Regions from separate parts of the Homo sapiens genome. Here region 1 is linked to region 2. Evidence: promoter capture Hi-C in 16 types of primary human blood cells and fetal thymus (Javierre and others, 2016). All regions are on one chromosome and are shown on one strand. Each heading gives the region's core, a stretch centred on a gene start or on the middle of the fragment in contact. The rest is flanking DNA. Distances are from core to core; before and after follow the strand shown. Region 1 overlaps NUCB2 (nucleobindin 2). Region 2 holds the start of SPTY2D1 (SPT2 chromatin protein domain containing 1).

Region 1 (6,007 bases), core at 553-3,052, 1.4 Mb before region 2:
GGTTCAAGGGATTCTCCTACCTCAGCCCATCGAGTAGCTGGGATTACAGGGACCCACCACCACAGCCAGCTAATTTTTTGTATTTTTATTAGAGACGAAGTTTCACCATGTTGGCCAGGCTGGTCTCGAACTCCTGACCTCAGGTGATCCACTTGCCTTGGCCTCCCAAAGTGCTGAGATTACAGGTGTGAGCCACCGTGCCTGGACGACCCATGTTCTAAGAGTCGAATCTGTCTATGTTGTGTTTACCTTTCTTTGCTCTCCCAAGGTACATATTGTTCATATCACGTATTTTGTATATATTCTTTCAGCATGCTTTTTGCCAAGTTGGTTTGCGCTCTGTGAATAACAGTTGAGATAAAATGCACAATTAAGACAATTAAGGTACTTTTCAAGACACAACTAATTATGGGCACTAATATCAATAACATCAATTCAGATGTCTTTTTTGTTTTGGGATATGTTATTAATCTCTGAACACATACTAAACTAATTTTGCATTACTTAGAATAATATGTAAATTACTTTCCACTTTCTAAGGACCCTTTTGAAGGCTGGGTTCTACAAAATACCCTTTTGAGTACTGGGTAGCTGGCAGAAGCAAGTGCAGGATTTAAAAATGTATTGAAAATAATCCTTTAGGCCGGGCATGGTGGCTAATGCCTGTAATCCCAGCACTTTGGGAGGCTGAGGCGGGTGGATCACTTGAGTCCAGGAGTTCAAGACCAGCCTGGCCAACATGGTGAAACCCCGTCTTTACTAAAAATACAAAAATTAGCCAGACGTAGTGGCGGGCATCTGTAATCTCAACTACTCAGGAGGCTGGAGCAGGGGAATCGCTTGAACCTGGAGGCGGAGGTTGCAGTGAGCCGAGATCGCGCTATTGCACTCCAGCCTGGGCAACTAGAGTGAAACTACGTCTCAAAAACAAAACAAAAAACAGGCTACTAACAATTTCAAATAATTTATTCAAGGAAAAACTTCAATCACTTTCATTATTTCCAATCAAAAATTTTTTTTACAACCATGATGTGGTGAAAAGTATACTTAGTTAGAATTTCATGGCCAGATTCCAGTACGGGCTCTGCCAAACGAACTTGGCCAAGTCAGTTAACTTCCTTCTGTATTTATAACCTTTTATAAAAGTAGGGCTGAATTAGATTACAGTAGTCCTCCTTTATCCTAGAGGGATATGTTCCAAGGGTCCCAATGGATGCCTGAAACTACAGGTAGTACCAACCCTTATATACGCTATGTTTTTTGCTATACATACATAATAATAAAATGAATAACAGTAATACACTGAAATGAAAGTTATATGAATGTGATCTTTCAAAATATCTTGTTTTACCTCAGGTAATTGAAACTGCAGAAAGTGAAATCGCAGATTAGGGAGGACTACTGTACCTCCAAGATTATTTCTGATCTTAGAATTCTCTGATTCTAAAATCCTAAAGCAGCCTAATAGAAGTTCAGATAGTAGTTACTTGATTTTATTTTTGGCAGAGCATTTTTTTTTTTTTTTTTTTTTTTTGAGACAGGGCCTCACTCTGTTGCCCAGGCTGACTGGAGTACAGTGGTGTGATCATGGCTCACTGCAGCCTGGAACTGCCAGGCTCAAGTGATCCTCCTACCTCAGCCTCCTGAGTAGCTAGGACTAAAGGAGCATGCCACCACACCCTGCTAATTTTTAAGTATTTTTTTGTAGAGAAGAGGCCTCGCCATGTTGTCCAGGCTGGTCTCAAACTTCTAGGCTCAAGCGATCTGCCTGTCTTGGCCTCCCAAAGTGCTGGAATTACAGGCATGAGCCACTACACCTGGCCTTGGCAGAGTTTTTTTTGGCAGTGTATTTTAATTATCTGAAGTACAGTATATGTAAATAATAAAGAGATTATAATTTTAATAATATGTTTATTGAGTGATACAGATCTGTTTTTCATAAGCCTATAATCTAGGATACTCCAATCCGTTGTTAAGACTGGAAAAAAAGGAGATATAATAGTTTCATTGATGAGTGTCCTTTTCTACAGATGTAGACAACAGAGGCTCTAAGATCTATACTAATGTCTTGATCAGGGAAAAGCTGGAGTCCAACTCAGCTGGTCATACACTTGATATTTTATTTGAACCTCACTTTCCTGTTGACTTTCATTTTCAAAGGGAAAATGGAGGTGAGCACCAGGTTATCTGTGGCCTTTGAAACTGGTGCCATGGAGAAACTCAAAAGCCGTTTATTTTTCTTCACCCTACCCTGTTTCATCATTAGATTTGTGACATTGATAGTAAGAAGAAGCAATCCACGTTTCCTAGCTCAAGGCAGTGTCTTAGAGAAGGAAACCTGAGTCTCTTGCTACAGTTCTGATTTAAGGTTGGAAGGAAGAGATTATGTTGGATGCATTGCTTTCATTGGTCTATGATTGCATCAGGACTTTGGTTCTGGCAATGTTCAGAGAAGAGCTCTAATGTGGCCTTTCAAAAATGACTGTAAGACCGGGCATGATGGCTCAGGCCTGTAATCCTTGGACTTTGGGAGGCTAAGGTGAGCAGATCACTTGAGCTCACAGGTTTGAGACCAGCCTGGGCAACATGGTGAAATCCCATCTCTACCAAAAATATTAAAAACTAGCTGGGCGTGGTGGTGCGTGCCTGTAGTTCCAGCTACTCTGGAGGCTGAGGCGGAAGGATGGCTTGAGCCTGGGAGGTGGAGGTTTTGATGAGCTGAAATAGCGCCAATGTACTCCAGCCTGGGTGGTAGAGTCAGACCCTGTCTCAAAAAACAAAAACGAAAACAAAAATTACTTTTAAAGTTGTATGTCAAACTGGTCTTGCTTGCTTTTTGTGTCGTTAATTTTTATTTATTTATTTTATTTATTTTTTTTAGACAGGGTCTTTCTCTGTCATCCAGGCTGGAGTACATTGGTATGCATGGCTCGACCTCCTGGGCTCAAGCAACCCTCCCATCTCAGCTTCCTGAGTAGCTGGGACTACAGGTGCACACCACTACACCCAGCTAATTTTTTGATTTTTTTTTGTAGAGGTGGGGTTTCACCATGTTGCCCAGGCTTGTTTTGAACTCCTGGGCTCAAGTGATCCACCCGCCTCAGCCTTTCAAAGTGCTGGGATTATAGGTGTGAGCCACCATGCCCAACCTGGTCTTGCTTTTTAAGTTCTACCACTTTGGGTGTTTACAGAACAGATTTTCATATTTCTTTATGTTTCCTTTTCAAGACAAGAAGGGCATTAATATTTATTGAGCAATTACCATTGTCATGCACTGTGCTGGTTACTTTGTATTCATTCTTATTTTCCTCGCATCAACAAACCTGTGAAGAGGTATGAGCTCAGTTTTCTAGGTAGGAAAATCAAGACTCAGAGGCAAGTAGCTTGCGAGTAAATGGGGGAAGTTAGGATTTAATCTCCTGTTTGTGTGTTTATTTTTTACCATGTTGTGTCAATAAAAGTCATATAACTTTCCAAAATACAACATGCATGTGATTACTCTCCTGCATAGATTATTTTATGTTAAATATACCATATGTAAAACAAGAAATACATGTCTCCTTAAAATTTGAAAATATTTTATTTGCTTTTTTTTTTAACAGACTACTTAGAAATAACTGCTTATGTTTACTAATGAGTTTGCACATGAGCTGATTTATGTTTTACATGTTATTTGGTGGGGTTTCAAAAAAGAATTTGAAATATTTCATCTTATTACTGATCTCTGTGACAAACTAGGAACAAAGTTAATTTTTTTAAATTGGTGGTAAGAGTAAAGAAAAATTCCAGTTAAGGATTTAACAGGAAAAGTTGCCCTATATCTTGAAGTCTCATTGCTGAAAAAAATAAGCTTTTAATCTGAATTCCTCCTAGTTATTCAAGAGTGGAGGAATACAGGAAAATTTGGGCATAATAAATCTATATCTATATCTATATATCTATATCTATATCTATCTATCTATCTATCTATATATATATATATATATATATTTTTTTTTTTTTTTCCCAAGACAGAGTCTCGCTCTGTCACCCAGGCTGGAGTGCAGTGGCATCATTTCGGTTCACTGCAACCTCTGCTTCCCAGGTTTAAGCGATTCTTGTGCCTAAGCCTCTTGAATAGCTGGAACTACAGGCACCTGCCACTATGCCCGGCTAATTTTTGTATTTGTTTAGTAGAGATGGGGTTTTACCACATTGGGCAGGCTGATCTTGAACTCCTGACCTCAGGTGATCTCTCCACCTCGGCCTCCCAAAGTGCTGGGATTACAAGCAGGAGCCACCGTGCCCGGCCAACATCTTTGTTTATTCCGGTTTTTGATTCTGTTTATTTCATGTATCTTTCTCCCCTCCTTAATGGAATATGATATAATTTAGTCTCCTTCCACATCATAAAAATTTGGCACTTTTCACATTATGTGACAAATGCATACACTATCATGTACCATTACCACTGTAAAAAGTCTAAATTTTGTGATTTTGTGTCTTTTATTTATTTATTTTTATTTTTTTTTACATTTAGAACGTGTTACGAGTCAGTTTTTAGTGAAAAAACATTGAGCTAGGAGCCAAGACCCATCTCTTCACTATTTTGGTATTGTGCAAGTCATCTTACCTCTCTGGATCTCAGTTGTCTCATCTGTAAAAAGGAGATAAAAATTATTTACCTGCCTGAACGTAAGTACTCAATAATTGCATTTGGTTGCAAAGAAACATGACTATCACTACCACCACCACCAAAATACAAAAAAGGAAAAACCAAAAACGAACTCACAGATGGCTTAAACATGCAATATTTATTTTTTATATAAAATAATAATTGAAATAGCACTCTAGGATGGGTATAGTGGCTTTATAAAGTCATCAGAGACTTAAGCTTCTTTCAGTTCTTTTATCAGTGATCCCTAAGACATTCTTGTAGTACTGGTTCTTGTATGTCCAAGATAGCTGCCAGAGCTCTAACCATCACTGTCATGTTCCAGGCAGCAAAGCATAGGCGAAGAAAGATGCATCCTCTTCCTTTAAGGAGAATTCCTGAACCAAGGCTGAGGCTATAAGAAAGCAGGGAAATGTAGCTGACTGCATGTCTGCCCTCTATAAAATTGGGCTTTTGTTACTGAGAAGGAAGGAAAGATTTGGATATTGGCAAGCAAATAGAAGTGTCTGCCATGATATGAATCTTTTTATCTTTCAGCTCTGAAATCTGTAAGCTGTGATAACCACTCATAGAAGCTTCTATAATTTGCCATGGCAGAGATATAAGTCTGACTATTAACTACAGAAGGAAATAATCTTCATGTAATAAATTGTGTTTCTGTTTTTACTTTTAGCCCTTAATTCATTATAGAAGCTTTTCTGTCTTATTTGTGGATTTGTTCTGGTTATTTTTTAAAATTACCCATAAATGCTCAATAGATGTTTGTTGTACATTTTATGGTTGTGTTAAAAAGAGCTAACATTTATTGAGCTACTTGCTATAATCAAGGCACTAAAATGACAGAGATAAGTTATCCCAAGGGTATCACATAACTAATCATCAGGAAGTAAATTTATATTGAAAGTAAATATAATTCATCTCAAGATACATTTCACTATGGTCACATGAGGAACACTTGCCTTCCTTGCTAGCTAAAAGTAGTTTGTTCTTTTTCTTTCCTTTCTTCTTTTTTTAACCACTTAACTGTTAGTTGTCTTGAAATTTTCTCTTACTACTAGTTCTTGCTTAACTTATTTAGCCACACCAATATTTTATTTCCTTCCAGACTTTTATTTTTTTTGTTGAGACGGAGTCTCACTCTTTCACCCACGCTGGAGTGCAATGGCTTAGTGCAACCTCTGCCTCCTATGTTCAAGCGATTCTCCTGCCTCAGCCTCCTCAGTAGCTGGGACTACAGGCATCCACCACCACACCCAACTAATTTTTGTATTTTTAGTAGAGATGGGGTCTCACCATGTTGGCCAGGGTGGTCTTGAACTCCTGACCTCAGGTGATCTGCCTGCCTCAGCCCCC
Region 2 (5,760 bases), core at 1,282-3,781:
AATAGAACAGTTAGATGAATCAAGTTAAAGCAAATCAAGTAAAGCATGAAATTTGGCCGGGTGTGGTGGCTCACACCTGTAATTTCAGCACTTTGGGAAGCCGAGGTGGGCGAATGACTTGAGGAAGGAGTTCAAGACCAGCCTGGCCAACATGGTGAAACCCTGTCTCTACCAAAAATACAAAAGTTAGCTTGATGTGGTGACAGGTGCCTGTAGTCCCAGTTACTCAAGAGGCTGAGACAGGAGAATTGCTTGAACTCAGCAGGTGGAGGCTGCAGTGAGCCGAGACCATGCCACTGCACTCCAGCCTCCAGCCCGGACGACAGAGTGAGACTCTATCTTAAAAAAAAAAAAAAAGAAGAAGAAGAAATTTAACTACAGTCTTATCCTATTCCTCAATAGTTTCTTTTGTGACTTTAATTCCACATAAAAAGATAAGAATTATAATGCTGGTAACTAAATCAAACTTCTAGGCTTACTAGCTTTGGCGGGGAGAGGTCAGAGAATGCATGATTCATAAAATATATGGCTATATTATCTATTGATTTTTTTTTTTTTGAAATGAAGTTTTTCTCTTGTTGCCCAGGCTGGAGTGCAATCGCACGATCTCAGCTCACTGCAATCTCCGCCTCCTGGGTTCAAGCAATTCTGTCTCAGCCTCCCAAGTAGCTGGGATTACAGGCGCACACCACCATGCCCGGCTAATTTTTGTATTTTTAGTAGAGATGGGGTTTCATCATATTTGTCAGGCTGGTCTCAAACTCCTGACTTCAGGTGATTCTCCCGCCTAGGCCTCCCAAAGTGCTGGGATTACAGGCCTGAGCCATTGCGCCCATCTATTAAATTTTAAATTACTTTTTTCCCCTTTTTGATTCTTCTGTTATTCCAATCATAGATAATGCATATATTATGACATATACACATATTTTGAAATTTTCTGCTTTAGGATTATCTGTCTGCTTTTCTCCCAGCAGCTACTGGCTTTCAGAATAAGAAATGACTTAGTTCTGATTCTTCCACAGAACAGTACTGGGCATCAAAGCTAGTACTATCTTTGACCTTTACTGAAATTCAATAAGATCTAGAATGAAATACAGACCAAATTATGCAAAGATGAATGGTTACTAGACCCAATATTGATTCATCTGGAAAATTTACAGATGCTTCTAGAAAGTAAATCTGTTGATCTGGGTTTCAAAGGTTTGAGTCTATACCTTCAACATGCAAAGCTTATGACTCACGGCTTAGAGGAATGGTTATTCAGAGTTCTTGGGATAAGGGATGGCTGTGTGTGTGTATATATACATATATTTATAAACATAAATATAGACCTTTTTCAGATCAATATTTTCAAAGGGATAAAAGAATGAACTAGCCTCAGAAGACAAAAAAAAGCTGCAGAAGAGAAAAAAACGAATATTGCAATATACGAATATCTAGGAAATGCAGAGCACTTCGTCGGAGCTCAATAAATTCTAGCTGAATTGACTTTGAGAGCCGTTTTAGTTCTATACCTCACTGCTCAAACCGCAGGCATCACCATGCAACTTATCGGTTTACAGCTGTGCTGTGGGTACCATCTGAAAATCTGGAAATGATTAGCTTATGCAAAACAGCCATAACCCCCAGAAACCAGGCGCTCTCCACCACTTTACCATTTAAGTCTTACACCGCTCTTGCGACTGTAAGCGAACTGACAAACATCTACTGACCAAATGGGACCTAGATTTTAAACAAAGACTGAAATCTGGAAGGCTACAAGTAAACAGAAGCTGAAACTAGCTCACCTATTCTGTTGGCCAAGGATTTCGTGGAATCTGCTAAACTTCTCTTCCCAAAAGATGATACCTATCCCCTGGGAGGTGATAATTTAATCACCTCGGTGGCTGAGTGGGTGGGGCCGAGTCAGAGAATTCTTTCAAGAAATCGCTAAACGTTTGACTTGAAGATCGATGAGAAGCCAGCCAAAAAGCTATCAAGCCAAGGACCCCAAACCCCCTAACTCCCTTACATACATATTTCCTTCCCAATCTCTAGGCTGAAGTTTATGTGGAAGCCAAAAACTACCAGCGCTAGAATCCACAGCGTGCCAGGCACAGCTCACTCACGGCTTTCACGCAATTCTAGCTACAACACCCAAACCGCAAAGTCCCTGTTGCAGGGGTAAATAAGCCGGCGAAACCCATTCACAGGAAGGCTCCCGCGTCTCGTCCCAAGCTCTTTTCTCCCGAGTTCCCAAGAGTATAAACCCAAGAAAAGGAAATAAGGCGTCCGGGTCTTTCCTCTCCCGGAGCCGATAGGCGGCTGCCCAGAAGTTCCATGGGCCACACACATTCCGAACTTGGAAGACTAGGGTCCCCTACATTGATGCCCCAGCTGCTACTTACCGGCACATTGTTGACACCTTGTCCCTTGGAAGCTATCATGAGAATTTCTCTGAAGTCCATGTTGGGCCGAGGCGGGAGAGACTGGGCCAGGCACTCGGAAAGGACTGACAGCGCACCTAACCGAGGCGCCCAGCTACAGCCAACTGCACTGCCTCGGGAGCCCCACTCCCACCCCGCCTCTGCGGGACCACTTCCGGCGCCTTCCTATGCCGTCTGCCCGCCCCCTTCCCTCCACGGCCTATATCCTTTCAGGGCCGCCACAGCGCTCGCGAGTCCCTGCGTAACTTCCGCTTTTAGGCCGAGACACGTACAAACGTGATACGTGGCTGCTGGCGTCGACCCGAGGGGCAGGGACTAGGCATTTTAGCAACCAAGGGGGTGTGGCTAAGCGAGAGAGCGGCTTCCCTGGTGGCCCGGGCGCGCGGTCTTGTCATCTTGTTGCTCCTTGTGAGCGCTGGGTAGAGAAAGTGAGGGGGTAGAGGGTTTACTTGCCAGGCCTGGGTTCTCTGGGTGTCACGGGTAGGCGCTTAGATCCAAAACGGCGGCGCCACAACAGCTGAACAGACGGATCTCGAGCCGGGGTTTGGGCTACTTGTGTCTAGGCGCTCGCGAAGCTGCGCAGGCGCACACAGCAGCGCCGTGGTCCTGTCTTGGATGCCCATTACTCATCAAATTCGGCCACATGCCGTGCGCTTACCTCCTACTCAGATGCACGCGTGCCGGGGATGGGGGCACGCGCTTACTTCTTTTGCCCCGTTTAGAAAGTAAGTTTTATGTGGAGCAGCCAACCTGTGTTTTTGCTCAGGCAATGGATTAAGGAATTTCACATACAGACCCAGCCTTGACATAACTTTGGTGTACTGATGAACATATGCTTCATATTCATATTCATTGGGATCCTAGTCCTGACTTCTTTTGGAGAGTTATCTTGGATCTGTAAGGTCATTTCGACTTAGCAAAAACACTGAAAATAATTAGGCAAACCTGGGTCTGCAAGTGGGAACCCGCCAGGGGATTGATAGCAAACAGGTACTCGGGATCTTTTCGGTGGGATGGAAATGCCTCCAAACTGGATTGTGGGGATGGTTGCACTATACATGTACTAAAAATCGTACACTTAAGACGGGTGAGAATGATACAGTATGTAAATATGTCAAGCTGTTAAAACATGCTAGACAGGCCGAGCGCGGTGGCTCACGCCTGTAATCCCAGCACTTTGGGAGGCCGAGGCGGGCGGATCACGAGGTCAGGAGATCGAGACCATCCCGGCTAAAACGGTGAAACCCCGTCTCTACTAAAAATACAAAAAATTAGCCGGGCGTAGTGGCGGGCGCCTGTAGTCCCAGCTACTTGGGAGGCTGAGGCAGGAGAATGGCGTGAACCCGGGAGGCGGAGCTTGCAGTGAGCCGAGATCCCGCCACTGCACTCCAGCCTGGGCGACAGAGCGAGACTCCGTCTCAAAAAAAAAAAACAAAAAACATGCTAGACAAAGCTGCTGGCTCTTACTCTTTGATGGTTTAATGCTGCGAACGTAATTCAAAATCAAAGCTGTTGGAACTTTAAGTTATTTTGCGCCTTAAAAGAATGTTATTATGGAACCTGAGCTACATAACAGGCAGCTGCGTTTGTTCCTCTGATTATAGATTAGCCTTTCTTTCCTACATCGTTTTGTGAAAACACAGGGAGAAGACAGCCATGTACAAACCAAGGAGAGAGACCTCAAGGTAACCACACCTTGATCATGGAATTCTAGCCACCAGAATTGTTAAGACAATAAATGTCTGTTGTTTAGGCCACCTAGTCTGTGGTACTTTGTTATTGGCAGCCCTAGCAAACGAATACACTGGCATATGGTGTTTTCAATTAATGCCAACCATCATTTCTCAAGGAAGCTCTTCCTGAGCTATCTCAGGGCCCCTTTTATAAATTCTTACAGCCCCCCAGTATTTCCCTTCATGCAACATTTTACAGTTTGTAATTACATATTTGTTCTTTTTTTTTTTTAAACTATTGGCTATATCTGTGATAGACAGAGCTATGAAAATGGGCATAAGCCTATTTTACCCATCACTATTTCCATCACCAGCACAGTTCCCTGCTAATGCACATAAAAGTTGCAACAAAGATTTTTTGACCAAATTAATGAATCGATAAGTGGAAAGCTCCCAAGATTCAATATTGTAGTACTTAGCATACATTGAGCCATTACTATATGCTTAGTGCTTGACATGGATTATCTGACTTGATCATGAGTGTTGTATAAGGCATTTCCTGTTACTGTTTTATAGATGAAAAGCTGAAGCTTGAAGAGATGAAATTAGACTTATACTGTACCATTAGTCAATCGGAGAGCCAAGACTAGAACCCTTAGATTACCCAAACCAGACTCTATATTTCAGTTAGCCCATTTGAACTGGTACAAGTCTATGTACATGGAGTTATAATGTAAAAAAGGGCTTGGATTAGGTAACTAATACCTAGTTAGTCAAAATCAAGAACAACTGCTGGAGGTGGGAATGAGGTAAGGAATGAGAGGAGCAATTTTCCTGTATCCTTGTAAAACATTCTATCATCGAGTTCAGCAAATACTTCCTGGGAAACTACTACTGTGTGCCCAACCTTATGGATGATACAAAGAAAGACCCATATCCTGCCTGCCTGATCAGAACTTTTAATTCTTGTGTGAACACAAGTAACAATTATGTAAAACAGAAAGTGCTAACTGTATTAGGGATACAAAGTGTGGGGAATAGCGTTGCCAGATTTAGCAAATAAAAATGTGGACATCCAGTTAGGATCTTGCTCTGTCACTCAAGCTGGAGTATGGTGGTGCAATCACGGCTCACTGCAACCTCGACCTGGGCTCAAGCCATCCTCCCACCTCAGCCTCCCAAGTAGCTGGGACCACAGGTGTATGCGACCACGCCTGGTTAAATTTTGTATTTTTTGTAGAGATGAGGTTTCACCATGTTGCCCAGGCTGGTCTTGAACTTCTGAGCTCAAGTAATCTGCCCGTCTGGGATTCCCAAATTGCTGGGATTCCCAAATTGCTGGGATTATAGGCATGAGCCACCATGCCCAGCCCATCCAGTTAAATTGGAAAGACATACACCAAAAATCATTTGTTGTTTATCTGAAATTCAACTTTAGGTGTCTTGTATTTATCTGGCAACTCTAGAAGTGTTGGAATTCCAGCTACAACATTACATTTAGAGAGTGTGAAAAGCACATTAAAGGGTTGAAAGAACAAGTAGTGGGTGTATTTAGGAGAATGCTAGGAAATAAAGGTCAGAAAAGTAAGTGAAGGTCGGGCGAGGTGGCTGACACCTGTAATCCCAACACTTTGGGAGGCCGAGGCAGGCGGATTGCCTGA

The links. The method cuts DNA at HindIII sites, captures the fragments that hold promoters and counts their contacts. A CHiCAGO score of 5 or more calls a contact.
Region 1: a fragment that was not itself captured here is called in contact with the fragment with the promoter of SPTY2D1 in region 2 in 1 of 17 cell types (total CD4 T cells); the score reaches 6.1 in total CD4 T cells.

What each region holds. Positions count from the first base shown.
Region 1 is chr11:17,278,270-17,284,276 of GRCh38, forward strand. It overlaps NUCB2 (nucleobindin 2), which reads left to right. Exons shown (of 14, transcript NM_005013.4): 2 at 4,520-4,674. Among named protein-coding and RNA genes, the nearest start is that of NUCB2, 4.5 kb to the left of the region's middle. The HindIII fragment of the contact is 4,092 bases long and covers 1-3,848 here.
Region 2 is chr11:18,631,811-18,637,570 of GRCh38, forward strand. SPTY2D1 (SPT2 chromatin protein domain containing 1) reads right to left here and starts at 2,532. Exons shown (of 6, transcript NM_194285.3): 1 at 2,388-2,532. The coding sequence starts at 2,447. LOC105376578 (a long non-coding RNA gene) reads left to right here and starts at 2,539. Exons shown (of 2, transcript XR_931097.3): 1 at 2,539-3,151; 2 at 4,070-4,183. RefSeq lists a silencer at 1,517-1,696 and an enhancer at 2,753-3,022. The HindIII fragment of the contact is 3,460 bases long and covers 1,228-4,687 here.